2 separate regions of the Homo sapiens genome follow, and region 1 is linked to region 2. The links are contacts of gene promoters, found by promoter capture Hi-C in blood cells and fetal thymus (Javierre and others, 2016). All regions are on one chromosome and are shown on one strand. The core of a region is centred on a gene start or on the middle of the fragment in contact, and the rest is flanking DNA. Distances in the headings are between cores, read along the strand shown.

Region 1 (5,879 bases), core at 716-3,215, 100 kb after region 2:
ACACATCTGGATGCCGAAAGGATTTACCCGTCTTCTCTGGCTGCCTGAGGTTAAGGGACTGATCTCTGGAGACTGAAATTATTTGGGAACTGTCCAAGCCTTTCAGCCTCCTTCCCCTCCCTCTGGGCAGACCATCTTTATAAACAGGATGTGACCCTCCTCATGTTCATCTTTCTTCCCATGTCTCCAGACTTTATCCTTCTGTAGGTTTTGACCAGCCGAGCCAAGAATCAATCAGTCCACTCCCATCACCCAGACCCCATCTCAGAACACTTTGATCTTGCAGATATGAAAAGGCTTAGAAGAATAAGAAGCCGCAGAGCCAGTCCTAGCCCCTGAGGCTGAGCCGAGGGCAGCAGGGACTCCTCCAGGCAGGAAGTCTGAGCTGCAGGAGCTGGCTAAGCTCTGATGGCCACATGACCGTCTCACCCATAGACTTTGTCCTGGGTTGACCCGTCCTTGGTGCCTGACTGCCACAGAGCCAACAGAACCCTCCAGTCTCCTCCTCTGGGTCTGGAGGCAAAAGGCTGAGGGTCCAGCCTCACCCTTCCCTTTCCCCAAATGACCCTGGGAATGCCATTTACCTCCATGCCTTCAGTGACTCATACGATAGGGATAATCATTTCTTCTCTGCCAGAAGTCAGGGGCCTATCTGGACTGTGTCATCTCTTCAGGTCTCTAGACACCTTTGATTCCTCCCCTGAGCTTCCCTCCCCCACATTCCAGAGATAAGAAATGAGAGTCACAATCACAATCATTTTTGGAGTATTTAGTGTGCGTCAGGCTTGTGACAAGATCTTCACCTGCATTTTCTTTTATAAGCCTGACAACAACCCCAAGACAGAAGTTATTATCTCCATTTTAGAGATGAGGAGATGGCAACACAGACAGGCAGATCACCTTCCCAGAGCCACTCAGCTGTGGCCAGCAGTGAGCACAAGAGCACCGTGGAGTCCCCTTCCCCAGTGCCCTCTTCTGCCTCTCAAGAAAGTCTTCAACTGACTGGAGCAAATGCCCAATCAGAGGGCCTGAAGCGGCCCCTTCCTGCTGCTCCTGATCCGCTGGGCAAGTGACCAGTGGGCAGGGCAGCATGCCAGGGGAGGAGGACAGCTTCCCTGCTTACTCTGGGCGAGACTGGCTCTCACAGGCCTTTTCTGCACACGGCCTGCAGGCCTAGCAATGGCACCAAGCTAGCCCTCAAGAGGAAGGACCACATCTCTTGCTGGGAGCCCTGAGAAGCCTCTGCCAGTAGAAATTGACCTGCCTCTGTTTTCTCTCTGGAAAGACAACACAGAGAACCTTACACAGGTCACCCTGTTGATGGGATGTACCTACCTTGTCCACAGTAAAGTCTTCCTCACATCTAACCTCAATCTCTCCTGCTGTAACAAAATCGTATGTTCCAAGAAGAGAAGAGGAGGGCTGTTCACAAGTTCCCCAGGCCCTAGAAGACCCACCTTGTCGATGAAGGAGGCGAACTTGTTGTTCAGAGCCTTGATCTGCTCTCGCTCCTGGGCACGCACTTTCTGGATCTCGGGGTCCAGCTCCACGTTGAGGGGGGCCAGGAGGCTCTCATTGACGGTAACCTGGTGGATGCCTCCAGGTGGGCATACAGTTGGGCACACAGGCCCCAGGGCCACACTGCCAAACATGCTTCCAGCAAAGCCACTGGCCCGGCCCCGGCCAAATCCATAGCCTCCACTCTTCCCGCTGCCACTGGCCACATTGAGGCTCCGGACACCCCCCAGGCTGTAGAGGCTCCGGCTGCCAAAGCCCCCACTGAGCCCTTTGCTCCCTGCCCGGAAGGAGGATGAGCTGCCCCCTGAGAGCACAGCTGAGCAGCCACTGAAGCCCCCCTTGGCGGCAGCTCCCGACTTGCAGGTGAATTGGCGGCTCATGTTGCTGGTGGAGACAAAGCTCAGATGCAGGAGGGAGGAAGGCAAAATCCCAAAAGGTTCTGCTGGTTGTAGTGAGGACTGGCAGGTGCCTTTATATGTGCTTGGCACTGGGGCTTGTGGATGGGCAGTCAAGAGCTTAATTCGTGGGTTTGGCTTGCCTGGGAGCAAGAAGTCATTTTCTCTATGCTGAGCTAGAGATCAAGCCCTCTCCACCTCTGAAACAACATGAAACCTTCAAATTGCTGGGCTTGCAAGCTTTGCTCATGTAATTTGGGTCTTATCTAATTAACCTGCTGTTATAGGGTAATTTGCCCCAGGCCCTGGCCTCTCCAGGGGGATGTCACTGGCACTGCACCATCCCTATCCTGATTAATCTTCTCTGGGTTGTTGGCTTCCTCCTGGGGATGCAGCAGGTGAAGACAGGATGGACTTTCCTGGATAGTTCAGGACACTGGGTAGAGTACTGGGGCCTCCAACTTCTGTTCTCCTCCTTCCTGGAAAGGGACTGATCAGGCATTACCTCTCCCCAGGCCTCCTGGAAACATAACCCATAGAGGGCAGCTGCTCTCACTCATGGGGTATTAGGAGGTGGAGTGACCCTCTCGCTAGCATGGGACAGAAGCAGCCCAGGCCAGAGCCAACCACGGGCACTATCCTCACTTCTCCCCCCTCAAACACCCATAATAAAGCAGGCTGGAGGCTTCAAACACTGGAGAAAATGAGGACGAGAAAAGGAGGATGGAGTTGGGGCAGGTGGCTGAGAAATTCAGGGACTTGACTGGAAGGAGGTACAGAGAAGACAAAGACAGAGGCTGGCCCATGGCCTGGAGGGTTATGGAGATTCCTGGGTGGTCCACTTCCTCATTTCTGTCTCTCCTCCAATGTGTATCTGCTAATAAGACTAGGAACAACTTGAGGACAGTAATCATCTGTTTAGAGTTCAAATAAAGAAGCTGTTATCAACATGAAACTTAACTCCTATTGCCTCTGTCCAGGCCCAAGTGAGCCAAGAACAAGGCTGGCTGAGCCCTCCCCAGGAGTGCAAGCCTCCAGGCAGGCTCAGACCAGAAAGACCCAATGGGGGCGACCCAGTAAGCACGATGTCATTCTACTCCAAACAGTCCTTTGATGCCAGCCCCAGAGACTCTGGCTGCAGCCCCTGCTTCCTAGCCACTGGCTCCTGTGTTGGGCCCCAGCTACTCCCATGATCGCCATTGCCACTGTGGCCCTATTCAACCCAAGGCAGCTCTGTCCCTGAAGATCACCCTTGCCCAGAGATCCCTGCTGGAGCCCCATGGGTGAACAGCAGCTCTTTGCTGGGTGGGGCACAGGAGGGAAGAAAATCTGGAGACAGGCTGGTTTGGGGCTCTCTCTCATATTGTTTAGGGGAAGAGCCTGGACTCCAGTCCCTCCCAATCCTCTGCATTCCTTCCTCTACTCTTGCCCCTGCCATTTTGTCTTCTTTGCTCTTACTGAAACTACCCGAATTTTCCTATCCCTGCCTTCTCTCTTTCTCACCTTCTCTCTCCATCCCTCCTCATCCCTCCCATCCATCTTCCCTCCATCCTTCCCTCTCAGCCTTTCGCCATCTCTTGTTCTGTCACTTCCCCATCCTGCTCTCCTCCAGGAGGTCTTCCTGCACCCACACAGGCCAGGTCTGAGCTCTCCTTACCTCCCTCCGCTCTGAACACATCCTTAGCATGTGCTGGTGGGGCTGCAACTCTGTGACAGCTCCCATGGGGATCCTCTGAAGCCATGTCACATGTCATCTTAGTTTTTCTTTGTAAGGCTAGCAGAGTCTTCTCCAGATTAGAGACCACCTAGTGCACTCTGAGATGGAGCAGGGACGCCCTCGTAGGGGCCTTCAGGTCCCCTCAAGCATGGAAATAAAGGACAATCTTGAGTTCCTTCAAGGGAAATTCTGGGCACCTTGCTAGCCTGGAGAAATAAATAAGCAACCTGACAAGCAAGAAGATAACAGTAGCCCAAAACAACAGCCACGAAAGCTGGAATCGTGGGATGTTTGGTTCCGCCATAGAAACTAAAGATAGCACCTTAACATATGTCCCAGAGTTGTTTGTCAGAAACCCAAACCCCACCAAAAGGGATGCCTGGGCACATAGACCTCAGATGAAGGGACACTGGGCACTGAGCTCTGACCACCACTCTTTGTTCTAAATTTCTTCCTGAGGGGCCTGAAGAATGTCACACCTACAAGCCAGAGCTAACACTCTTTTCTGCTGACCCCAAATTTTTAAACAAAGTTTCTCTTCCTTAACCAATTGCAAATCATAAAATCTTTGAATCTGTTTATGACCTGTGAGCTCCCACTTAAAAACATCCTGACCAAACACCGCATGTTCTCACTCATAAGTGGGAGTTGAACATTGAGAACACATGGACACAGAGAGGGAAACAACACACACCAGGGCCTGTTGGGGGGTGAGGGGTGAGGGGAGGGAACTTAGAGGATGGGTCAATAGGTGCAGCAAACCACCATGGCACATGTGTACCTATGAAACAAACCTGCACGTTCTGTACAGGTATCCTACTTTTTTTAAGAAGAAATAAAGAAAAAAAAGAAAGACATCCTGCCCTTTTAGGCCAAAGCCAATGTGTAGCCTTCATGTATTGAATTTCGCCTGTAACTTCTGCTCTGCTGAAATTTACCCCGCCTTTAAAGCCTCTAATCTTCACACCATCAGGGAGGTTGGGACTTCAGCATTAGCTGCCTGGTCCCTCTTGCTTGGTGCCCTGCAAATAAACGCCTTCCTTTCCACTGCTGCAAACCTCGGTGTAGATATCTGGTCTTCCTGGGCCGGGCAAGTGGACTCCAGTTTGGTTCTAGAACCCTTGCCTCCCTCCCACCCTTCCTTTCTTCCTTTGGTGGACTTCTACTGAGTGCCTGCTGTATGCTGGCACCATGCTCAGTGCTGGGGACACAGGAGTTGGTGGTGTACACTGAAGATTTGAAGGTTTTCTAGAGCTCTTGCTTGTGGTCCTCCATCTCTGGCTCTGAAAGCTGCATTTCTTGACATGCATGGCAGAGCCCTAGCCCAGCCTTTAGTGTCCCTGCCGCTGCTGCAGCCACCCCAACCCATCCCACAACCTCCTTCCTCGATGCCCCAGCCAAGGACATCTCACCCACTGGCCCCATCTTCGACTACCTCCAAAATTTTGCCAAGCTATTCTTATTCAGCCTGGAACCCCTTATCTCCCGATCTCCTCTGACCCCAATCCCACTGCTCTTCTGAACTCCTGCTTAAAACCCTGGATTTTGCAGTCTCCCCTCCCCAGCGTCCCGACTCCTCCGTCCCTTGACACCCATGTGCAGGTTGCTGTTTCCTAGGGCCTGGGTCCTGGGTCCTGGGTCCTGGGGAGGGTCCCATGTCCCAGTCAATTCCTCCTTCTGTGCCTTCCCTGAGAGCCCAGGACCAGCCTCTGAACATCCCCTCCCAGGTATGGGAGAATCAGTGAATAGCCCCTTGTTGGAGAAGCAACAAAACAGAGCGGAGTCAGGGCATCTTTAGGGGGCTTCTAGGCCTGTTGTCCACCTGGAGTGGCACCAGGTTGGAGCCTAGGCTGCTGCAGGGATCTGAATTCCATGCCACCACTCAGCCGCACAGTTTGCTCGGTCTCTCTAAGCCTCAACTTCCCCAGCTGTAAATGGGAAATAAACTCCTGGTGAGATAGTTGTGATGATAACCTGTTAATCCATAGAAAGTGCCTGCTTTATAAAATACATAATAAATGTTATCAACAACTAAAAGCAGAGAGCTCAGTAGAATTGGGGAATTGGCCTGTCCTCCCCTCTCTCCTTTCTCTCCTCTGGACCAGCACGTTCCCACGCAGTGTCATCTGATGTTGTAGGAAAGGGAGGGAGTGGGGTTCCCTCAGGCCCCAGGCTCAAAGAATCTGCCAACTCAGACCCTCCTTGATATTGGAAAATTTGCCATTAAAAATAAAAATTGTAGGCCGGGT
Region 2 (5,548 bases), core at 604-3,103:
ACTAATTTGTGCTTTTCATTTCCATGGACATGGGTTGTTAGGAATCCTACACACATCTGGCCCTGGTCACCCAATAGTCTTGAAGTGTGTGCTGCAGGAAATGGAGTCCTCACTTGTTCTTGAGGTCCTCCACCAGGTCCTGCATGTTTCTCAGCTCCGAGTCCAGACGACCCCGTTCCCCCACGATGTTGTCCAGCTGCCTCCTGAGGTTGTTGATGTACTGCTCGAACAACGGCTCCAGGTTCTGCCTCACAGTCTTGGTGCCCTGCTCCTGCAGCAGGGTCCACTTGGTGTCCAGAACCTTGTTCTGCTGCTCTAGGAACCGCACCTGGAGGGGAAGCAAAATGGTCATTTTCCAGGAAAAGGAAGGCAGAGAAAGTGTCTGGTATCCAGTTTCCTGGAGGTCTGGGAGGTCCCCATGGTGCTGGGCTACTACAGTGCATGTAGAGAGGCTCAGGCTGAGCTCTGCTCCCCCAACTCCTTCTCCTTTGCACCCCACCAGTCTCACTAGAGAAATTGTCCCACGGACCACTGAGGTGTTCTCGCACTGTAAGCTATTGATCATCAGTGAGTTTCAACATTTCTTCTTTTCTTTTTCCAAGCACAATCACAAATCTAGTTTAAAAATACTAATTACCTGATATATTGTACACAGTTTTTTTTACCGAGAGGATCTTAGTTAGGAGGGATATTAGATGTTGACTCATGATTACATTTCAGTCTACTTTCCCATTTAGTGTCTCCTCTCAAATATTCTGATGTTATGGTCATTCTCTGTTTTTAAAATTAATTAGCATTTATCCATGTTTTACAGTTGTTTCTATGTCCCTTTTTTTCTTAATCCAGCCAGATTATCTTTTCCTTTTCTTTCTAAATCTTTTTCCTCTTACCCAGACCCCAGAGTGTAATTTACCAGCCCATATACTCCTGGCATTTGCTTTGTAATCTCTTAAACACTTCAGAGGGGAGAATTAACCTACTCCACTCTCTGATGGCCTCATCTGTGCTTCAGGGTTATGAAAAGTTATGGCTCTCCCTAGGCAGGAGTGAGGGCCACTCCAGATATCCCATGGGGGAGTGATGCCCATCTGTGCTGCCTCCTGTGCACCGAGAGCCACCTGCACTCTCTGCAGAGCTGGGCTGAGTCCCCTTCTCCCTCCCTCCTAGGGTCTCTCCGGCAGGAAGGTGTTGCTCTTCTGGTCTGGGGACCCTGAAGTGCCCGATGGAGGGCATGGCACTGGCTCACCTTGTCGATGAAGGAGGCAAACTTGTTGTTGAGGGTCTTGATCTGCTCACGCTCCTCGGCCCGCACCCGCTGGATGGCGGGGTCAATTTGCAGGTTGAGGGGAGTCAGGAGACTCTGGTTGACAGTGACCTCTTGGATGCCTCCAGGGGGGCACACAGGGAAGCCAGGGCCCCCAAAGCCACCAGCAAGGCCGGCTCCACCACCCAGACCAAAGCCAATGCCGGCTCCACCACCGAAACCAAATCCACTCCCGGCGCCACCAAAGCCATAGCTGCCTCCGGCTCTGCTGCCATAGCCGCCACTGATGGCACAGCTGCCCCCTCCAATGGAGATCCTCTTGGAGCCCCCCAGGCCATACAGACTGCGGCTGCCAAAGCCAGCTCCTCCACATGCGCCACCCAGGCCACCACTGCCCCTGGAGCGGGACACGGAGATGCTGCTGAAGCCAGAGCGGCTGACCCCAGGGAGCCTGGCTGAGTTGGCACTGAAACCCCGGCGGCTGCTGCTGTGGCTCCTGATGGTGGTGGATGTGCTGGCCATGGTTCCAGGAGATGAGAGGGCTTAGGAGAGTGTGAGAGGCTGGAGGCGAGAGGGAGGAGAAGCAGGACGAGGAATCGGACTCCAGTAGCAGCTTATATATGGAGAGCATGGGCTGGGCCCAGTCCTGGAAGGTGAGCTTGCAGGTTGGGAAGGGCTGGGCTTTACAAATAGTGAGATCACACCTGCATTATTACAAAAGTTATGAAATACCGAGATTGCATTTTTCGCTTCCTTTAGTCAGGCAAAATGTTCCTGCCTCCAGCTTTGACTTGAGATCTCAGCACAATAAGAGTATTCTCAATTCATGAAGTTGGAATTAGTCACTGTCTTCAGCAAAGGTTCTGCATGCTAGGCTGTTTATCGACATGCCCTGAGTGCCCTCCTCTTCCCAGTCTGACTTTCTTCCAGCCTTGCTGTTGGAGATCACAGGCACTGTATTGTGAATTCCTTAACAGAAATATTACAATTTCCCCATAATTGTTTCACCTTTTAGGTGCAATTTTAAACAGGTAGAGAAGCAGAACACTGCAATGGGCCTGTATATACCTGTCACCTGCTTCCATGATGATCATCTCATGGCCAGCCTGATTTCTTTCATACTTCAACCCTATTTCCTCTTCCATTCTAGATTGTTTGAAAGGAAATTCCAGAAGTCATATTATGTCTTCAATCAATAATTCAATATTAATATCTAAATAATAGGTCCTTTAAAAAATCAAAACACTATTTTTATATCTTAAAAATTTACATACTAATTAAAATGAACAAGTGTCTATTTAGTCTTCAAGCAGTCCTATTTTTGATATATATTTCTTATATTTTGGTGTCCCAATCAGAGTCAAAATAAGCTCTATAAACGTTGTATTTGAGTGATATATCCTTTAAATCATTGAAATTTAAAAATCTCCCTTCATTTCTTACTTTTATTTGTTAAATAAAACAGGTTAACTGTTCATTGTACTTTTTCATTCTTGGGATTTTTCTAATTGCATACCCCTATTGTTTCCTTTAATATGAGACTCTAACCTTCATATTTCATATTAAAATTAGAAGCTTATTAAGATTCTGTCTATATTTAAACATTCTAGAAGTAAATGTAGTAGATTGCCCATTTAAATTTTGAATAGTACTATTTGCACAATTATTTACATGTTTACAAATTGAATACATGATACATGTTTTAAAAAATTTTTTGTAAAACATGCTAAACAACAAAATAATATAGCTCAAGGCCATTCCCCAGTTACCCAATTCCTATCTATGGAGGAAGTAATGTTAGCAGTTCCTTGTGTATCCTTGTATCTTTACTTGGATATTTTCCTGTGCTTTTCCTGGGCCATGGGTGACATGTCTGTGCATATGTGTTTGTGTCAACGTGTGTTTGTATGGGTGAGGAAGAGGTGGAGGGAGTTGGCATATATAGAGAGGGAGCCTGCATTGTAGAAAGGTATATAAATAAATACATGAATGTTTTGTGTGTATGTGTTTGAGTGTGTTTTATGTATATAAAATATTTCATGTATTCATATGTACAAAACATAAAAATATTGTCTTTTTCAATTGTGATTGTGTTGTGTCTGCTTTGTCTCCCACATCTATGTTTTCTGATTCTCTTTTTAACAGTCTCTAGTCTCTTTTTCATAGCTGTTTGCTTTTCCCAGTTATTCGAGGACATTTCTCCCAAATGTCCATTACTGTCTGTTTACCAATGTCTTTCCTCCTTATGCCGCTTTCAATTTGGGCTTCATTTCTTTTTTCTTTTCTTTTTTTTTTTTACACAGAGTCTTGCTCTGTCACCCAGGCTGGAGTGCAATGGCATGATCTCGGCTCACTGCAACCTCCGCCTCCCAGGTTCAAGTGATTCTCATGCCTCAGCCTCCCAAGTAGCTGGGACTACAGGTACCTGCCACCATGCCCGGCTAATTTTTGTATTTTTAGGAGAGATGGGGTTTTAGCATGTTGGCCGGGCTGATCTTGAACTCCTGACCTCGTGATCCACCCGCGTTGGCCTCCCAAAGTGCTGGGATTACAGGCGTGAGCCACCGCACCTGGCCAATTTGACCTTCATTTCTAAGCAGGACTTTGTTGTTATCTCTACCCCTTTTCTGTGCTCCACAAATGAATATTTTATCTTTTACCTGTCTCACTATATTTTGTCTTCTTTTTCCCACTTTATAGTGTTTATTTTTTAGTATTTTATTGTGCCTTTTTCTGTTGAGAGTTTTTATGAGTCTTTTTTTTTTTTTTGCCTATTTTTTTCAATTTTGAATGCACAGACCTTTTCTGAGTCCTGGCATGGTTCCTTTCTGACTAGTGCTTATTTTTAATGAGATGAGCCCCCTCTGGACCTGCGGTTTGTAGAAAGTATTATGGGTGGATGAGCCAGGGCCATATCCAGGCTAACAGGAGTTCTGATTGTGACACAGGGCTGTGTGAATAGTTCTTTTATTCTTTCATTCAGCCAAACCAATAAAGATCACTGCAGAGTGGCTCACAATTTACAGCCTCTTTGTTTTCTTTGCCTCACAATAAAATGCTACTAGTTGACCTTGTCTCTCTTCTTATTCAAATTTGCCTTCATAGTTTCTTGAAACTTCATGACAAGCAGGGTCCTGGCTCGTGCTCACACACCCAGTTGTGATAGTTGCAAATAAGGGATTCTTGGATTTTCACAGGAGGACATGCCCTTTACATTGATTTAGTTGAGGAAAATGAGTCAACTGTGCCTGGCATGTAGTAAAACCTCACTGTTAGGCTGTGTTTGGTTTTCCTTTGTGGTTACTGTGTTGTTTGATTTTGATCTGTTTATTTGTGAGTGTTCTCCACTGGCTTTGTCTGAGATTGGCAGCCGTGGCATCTGCTCTCTGAGTTTTCCTAACAACCTTGTTTGTATTTCTCTATTTATGTGAGGACATTCTATTATTATTATTATTATCATCATCATCATCATCATCATCATCATCATTTGGTTTAGGGATTTTAAGATCTTTTACTTCTGGTTTTTGAGGGTAGAGTCTGCCTTTATGTTTTTTGTTCTCTTTGTTGTTTTTAGGCAATTTCTGAGAAGAGGAAAGGGCTTCCCTTTCTTCCACTAGATTAAGTTCAGAAGCCACTCATTTATATTTAAAATATCATATTATGTAAAATGTTAATCCAATAACCTAAGTTTGAAATATTATTTTTTTCCTCTCTTGCACTTTGTTAATATAGATGTTTCATTGTTCTGTAGGGCCTCTATCTTCCCTTGAGCTGTTTTTGAGTAACTTGAATGCTTTCCATAAAACATCATTTTTACTATCACTAGAAATTTAATCTCAAGCTATATTTGTGTTTTTCTCAGTGTAATAAGCCACTTCATTGCTAAAACAAACTTTGTATTATTGAAAATTTCCAACAGGTAAAGAGAACAGTATATAAACCTCCATGAATGAATTATGCAGATTAAACAGTTATCAACATTTTTCTCATTATTGTTCCATTTAACTCCCCTAGTCTTTTTATATCTAACTCCCCTACTTCTTTTCTTAAAGTATCTTAAAGGAAATCTAGACATCAAGACATTTCACTTGTCAATATTTGTATATATAGCTGAGTAGTAGTGAATTTATAATCTAGTTGTGTAACAGTATTAAATCTATCCAATACCTCCTTCATATTTTCATTTCTCTGATTATCTCAAAAATTTCTCTTTGTAGCTGGCTTATTCCAAGCAACAACCTAATTAGGTTCATATATTACATTCGGCTGCCATGTCTTTTAAGG

Evidence for each region. Contacts are between HindIII fragments. The CHiCAGO score rates a contact against its expected background, and 5 or more counts as called.
Region 1: a contact is called between the fragment with the promoter of KRT71 here and the fragment with the promoter of KRT6B in region 2, in 4 of 17 cell types (neutrophils, M1 macrophages, erythroblasts and 1 more). The highest score is 5.7, in neutrophils.

Annotation. Positions count from the first base shown.
Region 1 is chr12:52,551,180-52,557,058 of GRCh38, forward strand. KRT71 (keratin 71) reads right to left here and starts at 1,966. Exons shown (of 9, transcript NM_033448.3): 1 at 1,458-1,966. The coding sequence starts at 1,898. The HindIII fragment of the contact is 3,012 bases long and covers 1-2,151 here.
Region 2 is chr12:52,450,293-52,455,840 of GRCh38, forward strand. It overlaps KRT6B (keratin 6B), which reads right to left and starts at 1,854. Exons shown (of 9, transcript NM_005555.4): 1 at 1,247-1,854; 2 at 114-328. The coding sequence starts at 1,786. The HindIII fragment of the contact is 8,192 bases long and covers 1-2,837 here.